Regions from separate parts of the Homo sapiens genome. Here region 2 is linked to region 1. The links are contacts of gene promoters, found by promoter capture Hi-C in blood cells and fetal thymus (Javierre and others, 2016). All regions are on one chromosome and are shown on one strand. The core of a region is centred on a gene start or on the middle of the fragment in contact, and the rest is flanking DNA. Distances in the headings are between cores, read along the strand shown.

The links. Contacts are between HindIII fragments. The CHiCAGO score rates a contact against its expected background, and 5 or more counts as called.
Region 2: a fragment that was not itself captured here is called in contact with the fragment with the promoter of CST9 in region 1 in 2 of 17 cell types (monocytes and naive B cells); the score reaches 7.3 in monocytes.

The regions. Positions count from the first base shown.
Region 1 is chr20:23,601,005-23,608,554 of GRCh38, reverse strand. It overlaps CST9 (cystatin 9), which reads left to right and starts at 2,638. Exons shown (of 2, transcript NM_001008693.3): 1 at 2,638-2,945; 2 at 4,821-6,145. The coding sequence starts at 2,691. The coding sequence ends at 5,045. RefSeq lists an enhancer at 5,688-6,189. The HindIII fragment of the contact is 2,472 bases long and covers 1,663-4,134 here.
Region 2 is chr20:22,343,536-22,350,349 of GRCh38, reverse strand. It overlaps the pseudogene BBLNP1. Among named protein-coding and RNA genes, the nearest start is that of LINC01427, 64 kb to the right of the region's middle. The HindIII fragment of the contact is 1,101 bases long and covers 4,100-5,200 here.

The DNA of each region.
Region 1 (7,550 bases), core at 1,389-3,888:
TTAGAGCATGTGGCTGAGTAGGCCGGGCAGTGAGGGACATGAGTCCGACCCCGGGGAGAGCACTCAGCTGGAGGGTCTGCGGGAGCTGGGGAGAGCGTCCTGTGTCCCGAAGAGTCACTGGGCTTCCCCTCGTCCACCGCCTCATGTTCAGCTTCACAGAAAAGGGCCAGTGGCTTGGTCCTGGTCGTTGCCAGCATTCTCTAATCATTCAAAGGAATGCGTTCAGAAATACAGGGCCTCGTTTCTGGAAAAGCAGGTCCATTTCAGTGAGGAGTTACTGGGACCTTCCTATGAGACCACATGGGTGTTCGGTGCCAGTGCCAGCAACACAAAGAGAGCACCAGACAAGTCCCGGTGGCCCCAGAGACAGACAGGCCAACGAGTGCCCAGGAAGAAGCTGAGTGAGACAGAACTCTTGCAAGGGGACTCAGGAGAGAAAGCCTCCCAGACCTGAGACCTGGGGATAGCCCTGCAGAGAGCTGTGAGCTGTGCCTGTGGGCTGGCCAGCCAGCCCCTCCGGGCCGTCCGGTTTCACTCTGGCCTCGGCAACATGTTGACCCACGTCTTCGGGGCTCCTCAGCCTGGAGCCCACATGTATTTCTCTTTACCTGGCTATGTCTTGATATTCCCGTCTCTCTCCACCTGGGAAGTGAGGCCATCCCAGGCCACTGGGGATTCAACAAGAAAATAGACACACTTGTAAGGGTCCATGGTGTCTGTACACCCGTGGTCTCACATCTGGGTGTGGGGATCCCTGTCCCCTCCTTGGCTGCACAGTGAGGACAGAGCTGGTGCCCAGGACCCTAAACCACTGCTCATGTAAGAGTGAGTGTGGGCACTCCCTTGGAGCACATGTGGGTATCGGCCCTCAGAATGGTGGGGGAGCCACTGGCAATTGGCAGGATGCCCCAAGTTTGTCAGCCGCTGAACTTACAAGGTGAGAGTGACCTCCATGGGCATTGCAGGCCTCTCTCAGGACACTCGCAACCTATTCCAGGCATCAGGATTCTAGTTCTCACAGCACCTTATGGCCTGCTCATCCCAAAACCCACAAAGGCATTTCCGCCCTCACTGACACCCCCTTCCTACCCCTACGTGCACCATCACTCTCCAGCTAAGAAACCACATTAGTTACGCTTCAGCTGCAGTTCCAGTGAACTCAACGCCATCAGAGAAAGGATACAGACTCCTTGGGTGATGTTTTTGGCACATCTGGCTGCTTTCCTGGAATTGTCACATTGAGTTGCTTTTTCTTTGCAAACAGGGTCTAGAAACAAACTCTTATTCTTTATCACCAGGCATGCTGTCTAAGCCTGTCCCCCATCCTGTGTGCCCCACAAAAGCCATTCTCATCCCCTGACCTCCATGCCCCTCAAGCTGAGTTACTTCTCATATGTGGTTTGGTCTGTATGCACTTCCCAGGAAGTATTCTGAACCTGCACCACTCAAAGTATGGTTCTGAGACCGGGAACACAACCATCCTCTGGAAGCTGGTGAGAAATGTAGTTTCCCTGGCCCTGCTCACAGCTACTGGGTCAGAATCTTTGGGTGGGGAAACTAGGAACTTGCTTTTTAACGTGACATCAGGGGATGCTGGTTGCTTCTGAAGTTTACAAGGAGCTACGGATAAACATCAAAGGCATATTTCACAGGGACAAAGCTTAAGTCTGGTCTGTGAAGAGTGCATTATTCAGTCTTTTGAGAGCCCCATTTGCGGTTGGAGTTGGAGGCTATGTGGGTCTTGGTCGAGAACTCAGAATCTCCACCCACAAACTGTGCCGCAGAGTGCTGTGCCGGCTGTGGCCACAGGAGGGAACCCGTGACAACCTAATGGGTGCACTTCAGCCATCCCTGAGGGCATCTTCGTCTTTCTGGTTCTCCACTGCTCCAATTGCAAGCGGCCACCCGTCCTGGAAACACCTTTGAGGAATAGGGGCAGCCATAACTAGCCAGGCCCCTAGTACCAGCACTTGGCAGCGCGTCCCTGGGCTGGGAAGCTGCATTTAGGGAGGTGCAGAGAACAGGGTTGGGGGCTCCTGCTCTTGATTTCCTCAACCTCTGCCCACGACCCCCAGGCTGGTGCCCCCCTCCCGAGACCCTCGGGGGAGCAGACACCTGCAGGACATCCCGCCAATCCTCCCGGGCTCCCCGCCTCTCTCTCAAGAGGCCCAGTGCTTTCTCGGGGCGCTGTACCTGCTCACCCATGATACTAGCATCCACTGTCATCCCTTTCCATCCTTTTGTCTCTGCCTTTCCACCTAACCTCCCCCTCCCAGCCCACCCCCACTGCTGAGTCCAGGGCTCACCTTCCACTCATACCTCTCACACTTGTGTTCCTGTGCCGGGCTCTGACTCTGGGGCGCCCAGTAGAGGTCTCCTTTAGCCTGCGGAGGTGCTGGGGCAGCTGGGGCTGGGCCTCATGTTCAGGGCACTATCTCTCCCATTGCTAGTCTTTTCCAACCCACCTGCCTGGGTGCTGTTCCTCTCCCCTAAACAGGAGATGATTTAAACGCCTTTGGAAGAAGGGAGGCCATGTGTGGGAGAGACAGGGTGTAACTGCAGAGGTGAGGCCTGGAGGGAGGAGTTTCTGCCCCAGCAGGTGAATTTAAAGGCCAGACCTGAGCCCTGGAAGGCTCCAGTGGACGCCAGGGATCTGAAGGGCAAAGGCAAGGGCTGCTGGAGCCTGCATCATGTCGAGTCCGCAGAGGAGGAAGGCTATGCCCTGGGCACTGTCACTGCTTCTCATGGGCTTCCAGCTCCTGGTGACTTATGCCTGGTGTTCTGAAGAGGAAATGGGTGGTAATAATAAAATAGTCCAGGATCCTATGTTCCTCGCCACAGTGGAGTTTGCCTTGAACACTTTCAACGTGCAGAGCAAGGAGGAGCATGCCTACAGGCTGTTGCGCGTCCTGAGTTCATGGAGGGAGGATAGCATGGACAGAAAGGTTGGTGACCACATCCTCTTCTGGCCTGTCCTTCTCCATCTGCCCCTAAGTGAGGGACCAAGATGTCTAGTCTAGGAGACTTGGTTCACCATCAGCAGTCCATAGTCAGGTAGTCCACAACCAATTACGGTAGTTTTAGTTTTGGAAAACATTGAACTTAAAATTTTTTTTAAATTAGGTAAATGTCTATTCACATGCAAAATATATTTTTCAATCTTCATGATTTTTAAGACATTGTATAACTGAAGAGTGACTTCAAAATAAGGACTTCTAAGGAGATGAAGCTGACAAGAAGAGAAAATAACCAAAGAGACTGATAAACATTTCCAGGTCATAAAATGAAAATGGAAAAGCAAGGACACACAGAGGGAGAGAGAGAGAGAGACAGAGAGAGACAGACAGACAGAGAGAGAGAGACAGAGAGAGAGAGAGACAGGCAGACAGAGAGAGAACAGTGAGAATTCGAGGGCAATAAAGAACACCATCAGCCCTGAGAGGCCACCGTGAAAGGTTAGTTCTCTGATCTCCACCTTCTCTGGGCTCCTTGCTCTGTCTGCACTTAATGAACTGAAGGCCAATTTACACTCTTCCTCAATGGACCTTTATCCTAAAATGCTTGCCTTTTTGATGAAATCATTAAATGTGGTCAGGAATGCACAGTTCATCTGGGCTTCAGGCATGAACAATTAAAATGCCCTCCTAGTGGAGAACTTCTGGTTTAGAGAGAGAAGGAGCATTGCTCTTCCTTTCTCAGCACCAAGAGCCTGAAAGAAAGGCAGAGGGACTCTAGTACCGCACAGAGCTTAAGCTCTGGAAAGACTCTGTGCAAGGCTCTGGCTGGTTCTCTGCCTCCTGGGGTGGATTCCTCACTGCCATCCTCAGGATTCCAATGCTGGTACAGAGGAATTTTCCTCCTTGCTCATTTGCTGCCTCCTCTCAGGAGAATTAAAAGCCTGATGCAACCCTCAGAGGGGCATCTGGTCCAGTAATGGTGGCTGCTAATATTCATGCTGGAACCTTGGAAGTCTCAGAGATTGAGATTGGCCAGGCCTCATGCTTCTGCTTTCCCAGTGCTTTGCTTGATTCTCCAAGACCTCAGTGTAAGCCTCCATTCTTAATACCGTTAGAATAAAATCTAAGCTCCTTACTATGGTCTATAAGTCCTAAATGACAGTAAGTCCTAAAAGCTTTCCACATGGCTTCCTGGATATGGCAATCCCAGCATCAGTTTGGGGGCTGGGAAGAATAGATGGGTGAGAGGGAGGCTATGGAGTGGAATTAAATAGAATGGAGTGGGAAGGAGGGCAAGGAGAACTTCAGCATGCACTTTGCAATAGGGCAGATGGTATTTCTTGAACCCATTTTCCCAGGGTGTGTGCCTGTGTGTAGTGGGAGCGCTGTGTGTCATTCTTCTTGCTGGAGGTCACTTGGAAGGTTTGACAACACACTGTAGATGAGGCTCCCTCTGTCCCAGGGCTGAAGTTACCCTGAAAACTCTTGGAGATCCAACACCCTCCCGGACATGTGGCTCTGTCCTCTGGGAATGCAGCTGCAAGATCAGATGCCTACTGAGAGTGAAGCTGGAGTCTCACCGTGGGAAATGGGGGTGGGTGGAGGTGGATAATGTGTTAGTGGGGTCTGACTCAGCCTGCATCCTCCCCAGACCCACCATGCCCACCTGCTTTTTGCTCTTAACTCCTCAGTCTAGAGAAGATCCCCTGGGTTTCACCTCCAGTGAGCTGATGCCAGGCCCATGGGCAAGCTCTCAAATGCAGTAAAGTGTTGGGGCCTCTCCTACTCAAATGGCATCTTCACTAGTAGCTACTTAGGGGCAGGAAGACGGTGCATCCACTTTAATCTTCTTTTGTCCAACAGTGGCGAGGTAAGATGGTGTTCTCCATGAATCTGCAACTGCGCCAAACCGTATGTAGGAAATTTGAAGATGACATTGACAACTGCCCTTTTCAAGAAAGCCTGGAGCTGAACAACGTAAGACAGGGCATCAGCTTTCCTCAGGTCCACAGCTGTGGATGCTGCATGGGGTGTGGTGTGGGCACAGGAGCAGCTGACAAAGCCATTCCGAGGGACAAAGGGAAGTGAGCCCACAGCAGGCTGTACCAGGCTGCCCTGCTTGTGCCTTAGTGGGAAGCCCAGTGAGGCATTAAGCCCAGGGGTTCACTTTCAGGCCCCTGGCCAATCTGAGTTTCCTGATTCTGCCCTCTGACACCATTGCAGCTGCCTGCACCTGGGCCACATGGCCTTCAGAACCTTCTCTCTGGTCTTCCTCCCCACTTCTTCCCTGCCTTCTAGAGAAAGAGCCTGGAGACAATGGTGACAATGTCTGTGGGTACTTTTCTCAGGGTTTCCCTACCCTGCCCTAGACCCAAAAGTGGTGGAGGCTGAGAAGAAGCCCCACTGCCCTCGCTCCTAGGCCCTGCTGAGCTGCAGCACCTGCTCTAGGGGACGAGCTCCAAGCAAAGCCTGGCTCTGGGAAAACTTCCCATTCTTAGTCAACCCCCTTATTGTAAGATTAACAAATAGGTAACTAATTGCCTAAGTCTGGGAACTGCTTCCACTGGGACAAAACATTCTCCTGCTGCTCTTGGATGCAGGGATCACACCAGGACAGCCTGGGGTTCCCCTGAGGGGCACGGGCTGGAGGAGGAGGCATGGCACAAGTGACCCTGGCTAAGGAGGGAGGGAGCCTCAAATCACGTTGTAGTTCAGGATTGGCCTCAGGCTCAGGCTAGACCTGAAGGCCAGAGCCACGTGGCACAATTGCTGGCCCCAGGAATGGGCAAGGTGGAGATGGAACCTGTGTTGAGGGCAGATGCCACAAGATTCCCGAACCTCCCCAAACCCCGCCCTACTGTCTCTTCCTGTTTGTTCCCTCGGACCTTCAGCTGCTTCTTCACTGTTGAAACCATGCCCTGGAAGACATATTTTGAACTCCTGAACAAGACCTGCTCAGAGGGGCTCTCCTGAGTGGAAGCCACTCACATGCCTGGCCACATGCTGCCCCCTCCCCCGTGGACACCAGCTGTTCCCAGGAGTTGACATATCAGTGGCTGAGCAGCTCCGTGCATATTTGTTCTCTTATTTTGCAAGTGTCTGAGGTTTTATGACTTGGCATTTTAGAAAATCCTCACTGTCCAGGTTCCTCAAGTAGAATAGGTCATTAAACATCAGCATTTGCAGAAGCTTCCTGTGCCATGTTCTGGAGGGAGGGGGCTGAGCAGTTGATGGAGTTCCTCTCAGAAGGGCAGCCTATTTGCATCTGTGTCAGTGGGGTCCTCCCTCCCTTAAGACCTCATAAGCCAGCTTCCAGGTGGCACAACCAAGATAAGTCTGAGCTGCTGTCTCCATGCTCGTGGCTGATGATGACCCATGTGGCCAGAGGTAAAATGTCTGTGATCTTGCAGGACACCCAATGTGCACAACTGAGCAAGACAGGGCCTCTGGGTCCCACTCAGCACATGTGGCCTCTGTTCTCAAGGGGTGGCTCACACACCTTTCCTGGTTCGTGGAAGGTTGGTGGGAAGAGGAAGGACTTCTAGCCTCACCCTTATAAAGCTGTCCTGGCATCTGGAGCAGCAGCATCTTCTGAAAGAATCTTAGAAATGTCCAACTTCAGGGCCTCTGACCTTTGGAAAATGCATCTGCGCTCTTACAAATCCCCAGGGATGCAGAAATCCCCTGAAAATGCAGGATTTGCAGGAATGCACACCCCCAGGGGATGCAGTGTGAGAGGCACGGGCAGACTAGATGCTACCAAGACATTGCCCAAATCACCTAAACCAGGGTTTGGCAAAAAAATTTTCTGAAGAAGCCAGAGAGTAACTATTCTGGCCTTTGTGGGCAGATGGTCTCTCTCAGCTACTCAGAATTGCTGTCGTATCTTGAAAGGAGCAATAGCCAATGTGCAAACATGTAAGAGTGGTTGTGTTCCAATAAGTGTTTATTTACACAAACAGGCAGTGAGCTGCTTGGGCCTCAGGCCATAGTTACCAGTCTCTGATGCTAAGAGCTCCTCTGGACCCTGGTGCCCCTGAGACACACCATGCTACCAGCTCCCACGCCAGGCACCTGTATCTCCCCCAGCTTCACTCAGGGGTTGATCTGTGCAAATGAGCTCCATCAGCAGAGCAGGTGCACCCTGCAGGTGTGGGAAAGGTCACATCTGAGAGTCACATTCTGTCACTGGAAGTGAGCAGGTATATGTCCCAGTCTCCCCAGCCTCAGGGCACCCAATTCAGGGTTGAATTTCTGCATTTGCCTCCCAGCAGGATATACCCCTATGGTCCACAGTCTGGCCTCGAGAAAGAAACCATCACATCCTCCAGCTAAAAATTAAATAAAGTACTCTTTCTGGACAAGACTTAAGTTTCTTCTCCATGAAGATGCCTTCAGCATTTATCTGTAGTTACTTGTGAACTTCAAAGGGACTAGAATACCCTGAAGGCAAGTTCTAAATACCCTAAACCTAAGTTCTTATTCTCCCTATCCCCCAGGAATCTGAACCACTAGGTCTGGGCAGGGCCAGGGAATTTGCATGTCTCACCACCTCTCCTGGGACGGACCTGCTCCTGGTACCCAGACCACACT
Region 2 (6,814 bases), core at 3,401-5,900, 1.3 Mb after region 1:
TTCTCCCTGTCGCTGTTCAGTCTGTGAATAGTAACCACTGCCTCTTCTGGAAGCTAAATAATTTACTCCTTTTGACCTTCACATAGAAATCTCTTCCAGCAAATCCCTTAGAATTCCATAAAAGAAACTTTATGAGTGAAATCCATCCAATAAATTCTCAATGAGCCAGTCATGGAATCATGAAACCGCTTAGGTGCCCAGCTTCCTTCTCTGCAGAGGAAAAGAAGGTTTCCTTGTGCTTGTCCCTTCCTTGGGAAGCCCAGCTCCTAGTGAGTGGGCAATCCGTTGCCAGCCCAAGCCAACACTCAGGGTACAGCCTGATTTCCACTCCCTTGAAACATAAACCTCTCTGTTCAGCAGCAGCTTCTGGCTCCAGAGTCTTTTTATTTCTCCAAACTGCTGCCTCTGTTTGGATGAAATAGCATTTTAACACATCTGAATTTTCTGTTTGAGGTATATTTTCAGACATGGAATAAAAAAAAAAAACACTTCCCTGCTCAATATATTTTTCTCAGAGTCATTTCGAAGATAGTAAGACAGATGTATTTTTTATGCCAAAAATAATTATCTCTTCCTATAAATTTTTTGGGACTGGATTTCAGGGTCTTAATAGCTTTCTTGGGATCCTTTGTATTTAGAGAATTTCTTCATGGTGACATTCCAAGTTAGTTTTTAAATCTATCAGCTATAGCAGAGGTGGAAAAATTGTGGCCCCTGGTGTAACTAAAGTTTCACTGGAACACATCCATGTATTCAGTTATAGATTGTCTATTGCTACCTTTCTGCTACAACAGCAGAGTTGAGCGGTTGGGACACAGACAGTATGACCCACAGAACCTAACAATTTCCTCTTTGGCCCTTTACAGAAAACATCTGCCGACCCATGTTGTGTAGCCGAAAAGCCAACCTCCCATTCCCTGCGTATACCATGTTCTCATTCTCACACTAAGTTTTCCACATTCATTTACTGTTCTTTTCAGCTCTTTTTTCTTATTCATCCTGGAGCTTTGGTTCATGATATTCTAAACACGGAGCCTCCTGCCTTTCCCAAAATGATTACTGATTCTACCCCAGCCTTCAAATTCAACTTATTGATGACTCTGCAGTGATGGAAGTAGTATGAGAAACCTACAGTCCCCAACCCCGTGCTCCACACTGGCTGTATTTTCTTGCCCAGAATATGAATATATTTTTAGCATATCTATGCCTTAGAATCTTTCCAGATTAACACATTCTTTAATCACTATCTCACGAATTTAATTTTCCATCTTGCCCTGTGCTAGATGCATTTCTAGGTGTTTTATGCTCCAAACACAGTTTATCATCAGTGCCTCCATGGCACTCCAAAGTTGGATTATTAAGTCCACTCTGTAGATGCCAGACTGAGGTGCAGGGGGTTAGGTAATTTGCTCAAGTTTACAAAGCTAGTAATTGGTGGAGCCAGAATTTAAAGTCACTCTTGCTCCCAGTTGCCTACAAAAAATCTTCATTACATTGCATTGCCAGAAAACACTAAAGAGTAAATTATTTTTACTATTCTAGTGGAAATACTTCTAAAATATTCTACATACTTCTCTGCCATTTCAATTAGATCATATTGAACATAAGTTAACCTCTTCAGGACTAGTTAATATCATAGCTATTATAAATGTTATAGTGGTATAGAAGCATTTGAATCTACAAAGTGACTTACTGGCTGCATAAACTTAGGCAACTAACAGCCTCTCTGAGGTTCAGCTGCCTCATCTGCACAGTGAAGTTAGTCATATACTCACAAAAGATAACATAAAATGCCATGAATGAATCAGGCACAGAGGAAGGATGCACTAGGTGGTTATTATTATTAGATTATTGGATTATTGAGGATACTCTTTAACTTGGCTGCCTGAAGACCATTTAGACTTACTTCCTCAGTGCTTAGAACTACTGCCAAGAACATCAAACAAGTTTAAGTGATAAACTGATATTTGCACTCCTGCGGCCTATCTCTGGACTAGATTGTGTCTTGTTGGAGTTCAGTGCCTATGATCTGTATATTTTCTGCTGCAGCTGGTATCTCTAGTACCGAATATTGTTTCATGAGGATTTACTCTGGCTGTTGATAGAGACAGAAAGTCTTGTCTTTAGCCCTGGCTGTCACGTGGACAACAGGCATAGATAACAACAGTCAGTCCCAGTGTCTAGCCAGCCTCAGCTCTCCATGGGACTGCCTGGGAAATAAGCAAATACCCATAATTTTAATAACACCCGAGTTCATCAGAAAAGTGTGAAAGGACCAGCATCTTTGCATATTGATACAGTTTCATGTGGCCTCTCCAGCAGAGAGGTAGGTCCAGGGCCACTCTGTGGATACTCTTCCTTAAGGGTGTGATTCTGAACCTACTAGAGCTCTTTGGGAAGAAATTGGATATAGGATCAGGCATGCAGGTCGTTTCAGTGTTCCAAAAATCCTTTGCAGAGAAAGAAGCTTAATCTTTTCTCTGAGTGGCTCTGTAATGTGTATAATGTACAGGCGAGTGGAAATTAAGAGGAAGCATGTTCCTTCTCGCCCCACGGAAGCACTGTTGAAAAACTCTTCCCAGAGGACAAACTCCTCTGATGTGACACCAGAGTCTTCCAGTGGGGCCACTCTCAGGGAACTCATGCATTAAAGAGGTTGAGGGAAGGTCCTTTTAATTCTGAAATCCTCTAATTTAAGACTTTGGAAAAGTTATCCTGTGAATTCTAACGGACCACAGATCAAGTCATACGGCTTATGCTTCACAGCATTCTGGCAAAGCTTTTCAAGGCACTGCTCTCAGACGTGAGTGTCTATTCAGATCACTTGGGCCTCTGTTAAAATGCAGATTGCTGGTTTACCAGGTCTGGGGTCTGTGAGTTTGCTTTTCCAATAAGCTTCCAGGTGACCCTCGGTCCAGGACCATGCCTCAAGCAGTAAGGTTTTAAAGGGTATGTGAATTAGGAAGGGTTAACGGGCAAGCCCCTTGGTTCCCGCATCCAGAAAGCAGACGTCTGCACTAGCTCCTGCTCGCTCCTGCCTTGGCCCCCACTCACCCAAGCTGAGTGCTCTGCTTCTCAGTGAGGTTACTCTATTGTTTCTCATCCAATCCAGGACAATTTTGGAGTAAAACAGGTTTTATTATGGCGGGATATAAATTGGAACTCAGATATTTTTTCCTATAAGACTCTCTAATGAGGTTTCTTTTGTCATAAAATTAACGTTCTTACATCTTTCTTTATTCCTAGAACTGTATTTCTTGTTTTTAAATTTGTTTCTGTGGGTAAAGAAAGCGTTTTGGGTTGTCTGTCCAGAGGGAAATAGGACAAGAAGCAAAAAACTGTTCAAACGGTAAATAAACTATTTAGGATTTGATGTGTATTCATGAGTCATGGGGGTAGGAAGAGGAACTTAACTGCACTAGGTCGGTAAACCACAAACCCTCTGAATCAATAGTATTTCGTTTGCTGTTCTAATAATGGCAAACACCAAGGTGTACCAGAGTGGGTGTGAGGGGTTTCTTTCCTTTTTTTTTCCTTATATGATGTGTGAACATAGTGTTAAGTTCATTCAAAGGAGGCAGGAAAATTTTCTGCTTCACTGTCAAGGCATGGGAGTGGGGCTCTGCCTGGGACTCTGGGAGAGAGAAGTGTGGGAGAAATAGGATCTTGTCACATGAAGGACCGGGTGTCATCTGTCCTGCTGGACATAGCTGAGATCACAGATCCTCACAGAGTGGGTAGGGGTGTTCTTATATTTCATTTAATTATCACAAAGACCTATCGGGCTGCCCATACTTACTGTAAGAGAGGAGGAAGCAGTGCTTCAAATCAGTGAACTCCCATGGGATGTAGTTGGGGTCTGAACTTGTGCCTCCAGACACAAAAGATGTTGATCACATTTGTCAAAAAATGACTTTCAAATTGCAGGAAGCTGCTATCATCTTCCATGCCTTCATCTTGCAGATGAGAAAACCTGGTTGAGAGGCCTAGGGATTTTACAACAAACATAATGCACCAAAGAACAAAGGAGAAGAATAAGAAGATGCTTCCGAGTTCTGGATTTATGCTCCTTCTGTTCCACAGTGGTCCCTTTAAAGCTTTCATGGAGACACAGTGGGATAAGAGGTTACCACTATCATTCGTGTTTGCCCCCAGCATATACTAGTGTTCATGCATACTAGCACTGTGTGAGCATGTATGTATGAGCGAGTATCCTTGTATGTGCAAGGGTGTTCTTGCATGAGAGTGTGTGTTGCGTGAATTTGTACATACACATGAGTGTATATGCATTTTTGGTGGTGAAAGGGAGAAAATAGTATTTACTGAGCCCCAAGGCCACGCCTAGTATAAACCAAGAACTTCCTTTAAATTATTGCACACATTTAGGTAGATATTATTATTACCTGCATTTTTCAGATGACAAAAACTTTGAGTTAAATAGTACATATTACCAACTCGCAATATAATACATTGTTTACAGGAGTCATAAAGGGTGTAATCTAAGTTTTCCTAGACCTGAGAATATACTCTAAGAATCCTGCAATGATTCACATGAGAAATGGAGGTTAGCATCACAATGGAGTACAGAGATGTGCTAGTTAATAAATTGCTGGTTACTTCAATGTCTAGCCACCATGGTCTGACAGCACAGACTTTGGAATCAGTAGACCCTGCTTTGCTCTCATGTTCAACTACACACCAGCAGCAAGGTCCCTGAATAAGGCCAAGAAGCAAGGGCTTCTATCCTTTTTAAGACATCTTGCCATTTTCAGAATAACTGTTTTTGGTAGCTGTTCTTGCATATACTCAAGGGTGCAAAGCACATTTCTTGCCTGGGTTAAATAAAATACAATGTGACAATGCCATGCAATGTATTAGGTTACATCATATAAAATTGCCGATATCCAGTTATTTTTTTCCTGCAAAAATGATCATTTTATATGGCTCAACCCAATCCTTTATTAAACTGTAAGAAAGAGAGAAATAGCCATAGAGAACCCGCAAACCATGCAGGAAAGTTAATCTAGGTAACAAGAGGCAAGAGTTATGATCAGCTTTCCAAAGCAGTTCTTAACAATCTGCCACTTTCAAAGGAACTCCCCTGCTCTGTATTTATGGTGAACTCAGCTTGTGCAAGAAACAAGGTCTGTAGGATGAGATTCAGAATTAGGGGATCAATATTTTATGCCAAATCCAAGCTTCTGGTGGATGGGAATTGATGAGGAAGGACGAAGGGGAGACCAGGCAGCTGCAAATGTGGCCTTTGTGGATCTGACCTACTTGTACATTCAGGGTCCATCCTGGCCCCAGCTTCTGTAAATGAATAATTTAAAAAACCCTCCTTGAATCCCTTGTTAGGTAACTCTTAAGGCTACTCTTTATCTTTTAGTATTAATGTCTAGACAGAGGTTCTCAAACTTTGGGGTCTCAGGATCCCCTTATACTTTTAAAATTATTGACAATGTAAAGAGATTTGGTTTGTGTGGGCTTATCTACTGATAGTTAATGTATTAGAAAATATAACTGAGATTTAAAAATGCTTATGCATTAATCGGCCCAGTGCCTTGACTTAAGCCTGTAATCCCAGCACATTGGGAGTCAGAGGCCAGCGGATTACTTGAGGTCAAGAGTTCGAGACCAGCCTGGCCAACATGGTGAAACCCCGTGTCTACCAAAAATACAAAAATTAGCGGAGCGTGGTGGGGCTTGCCTGTAATCCCAGTTACTCGGAAGGCTGACACAAGAGAATCACTTGAACCCAGGCAGAGGTTGCAGTGAGCCAAGATCGCACCACTGCACTCCAGCCTGGGCGACAGAGAGAGACTCCATCTCAAATAAATAAATAAATAAATAAATAAATAAAATAATACTTATGTAACATAAATGAACAGTTTTATGAAACATACTATACTTTTCCAAAACAGAAGCTGGGCGGAAAGAATTTCACCTGCTTGCCTTCTATTTAAAGACTGGCTTAACAAGACACCTGGAATTTCGTGTCTGCCTCTGCTTTTGATCTGCTGGAACATCCCATGTGCCCTCGCCTCTGGAAATCCCGAGTACACTAGTGAATAAAGCAAGTCATTTCTCAGGAGCACAGTATTAGGAAAATAGTTTTGAATTTATGGACCTCTGAAAAGGATCCTTAGGGCCTCGAGGGTCTCTGGACCATATTTTCAGAACCACTGGCCTAGGGTGATTTTTAAAAATTATTAGACTTTACTCTTAGATCAGTTTGAGACCCCAAAAGGCCCTCATTCTATTGTGCAGCCAGGGTTGGGAATCGCCACTGTCTGTTGTCTTATTGTCTAAAACGCATCTGCGATCCTCCCTGACCACCCCCAATGCCCCCACCCGGCTCCCGCTTTCAGAGCGAAGGTCGCCGCGCTCCTTCGTCGCGGGGCCCTCCTGGTGCCTGAGTCAGGTCCCATGCGGAACGTGGGCGTGCGGGGACAGCGGGAGACCAAGGCAAGGGCGACGGCTTCCGGGAAGCAGAATATGCTGCCATCACATCCTGGACCAGGTCAACTTCTGTCTGGACCACCGGCAGGAGAACGACCCCCTCCACGCCTGCCTCCAGTAGCCGCTGAAGTCCAACCGGAAGAGGCGCCTTGAGTTCCAGCAGCAGCTCCGGGAGGTCCCGGCCATGCCAGTCCCTAGGTTCCGGGTGCCCCGAAACAGGCCCAACCGTGTCCCCTGGGCCAGGCTCCGGCTTGGGCACTCACCTCTTGGCTTAAATACCTTCTCCAGGGCCAGCCTTCAGGGTACCCTGGTGGGTCTGCAGCCTGGGACAGCTTCCCACACCTTCCCACAG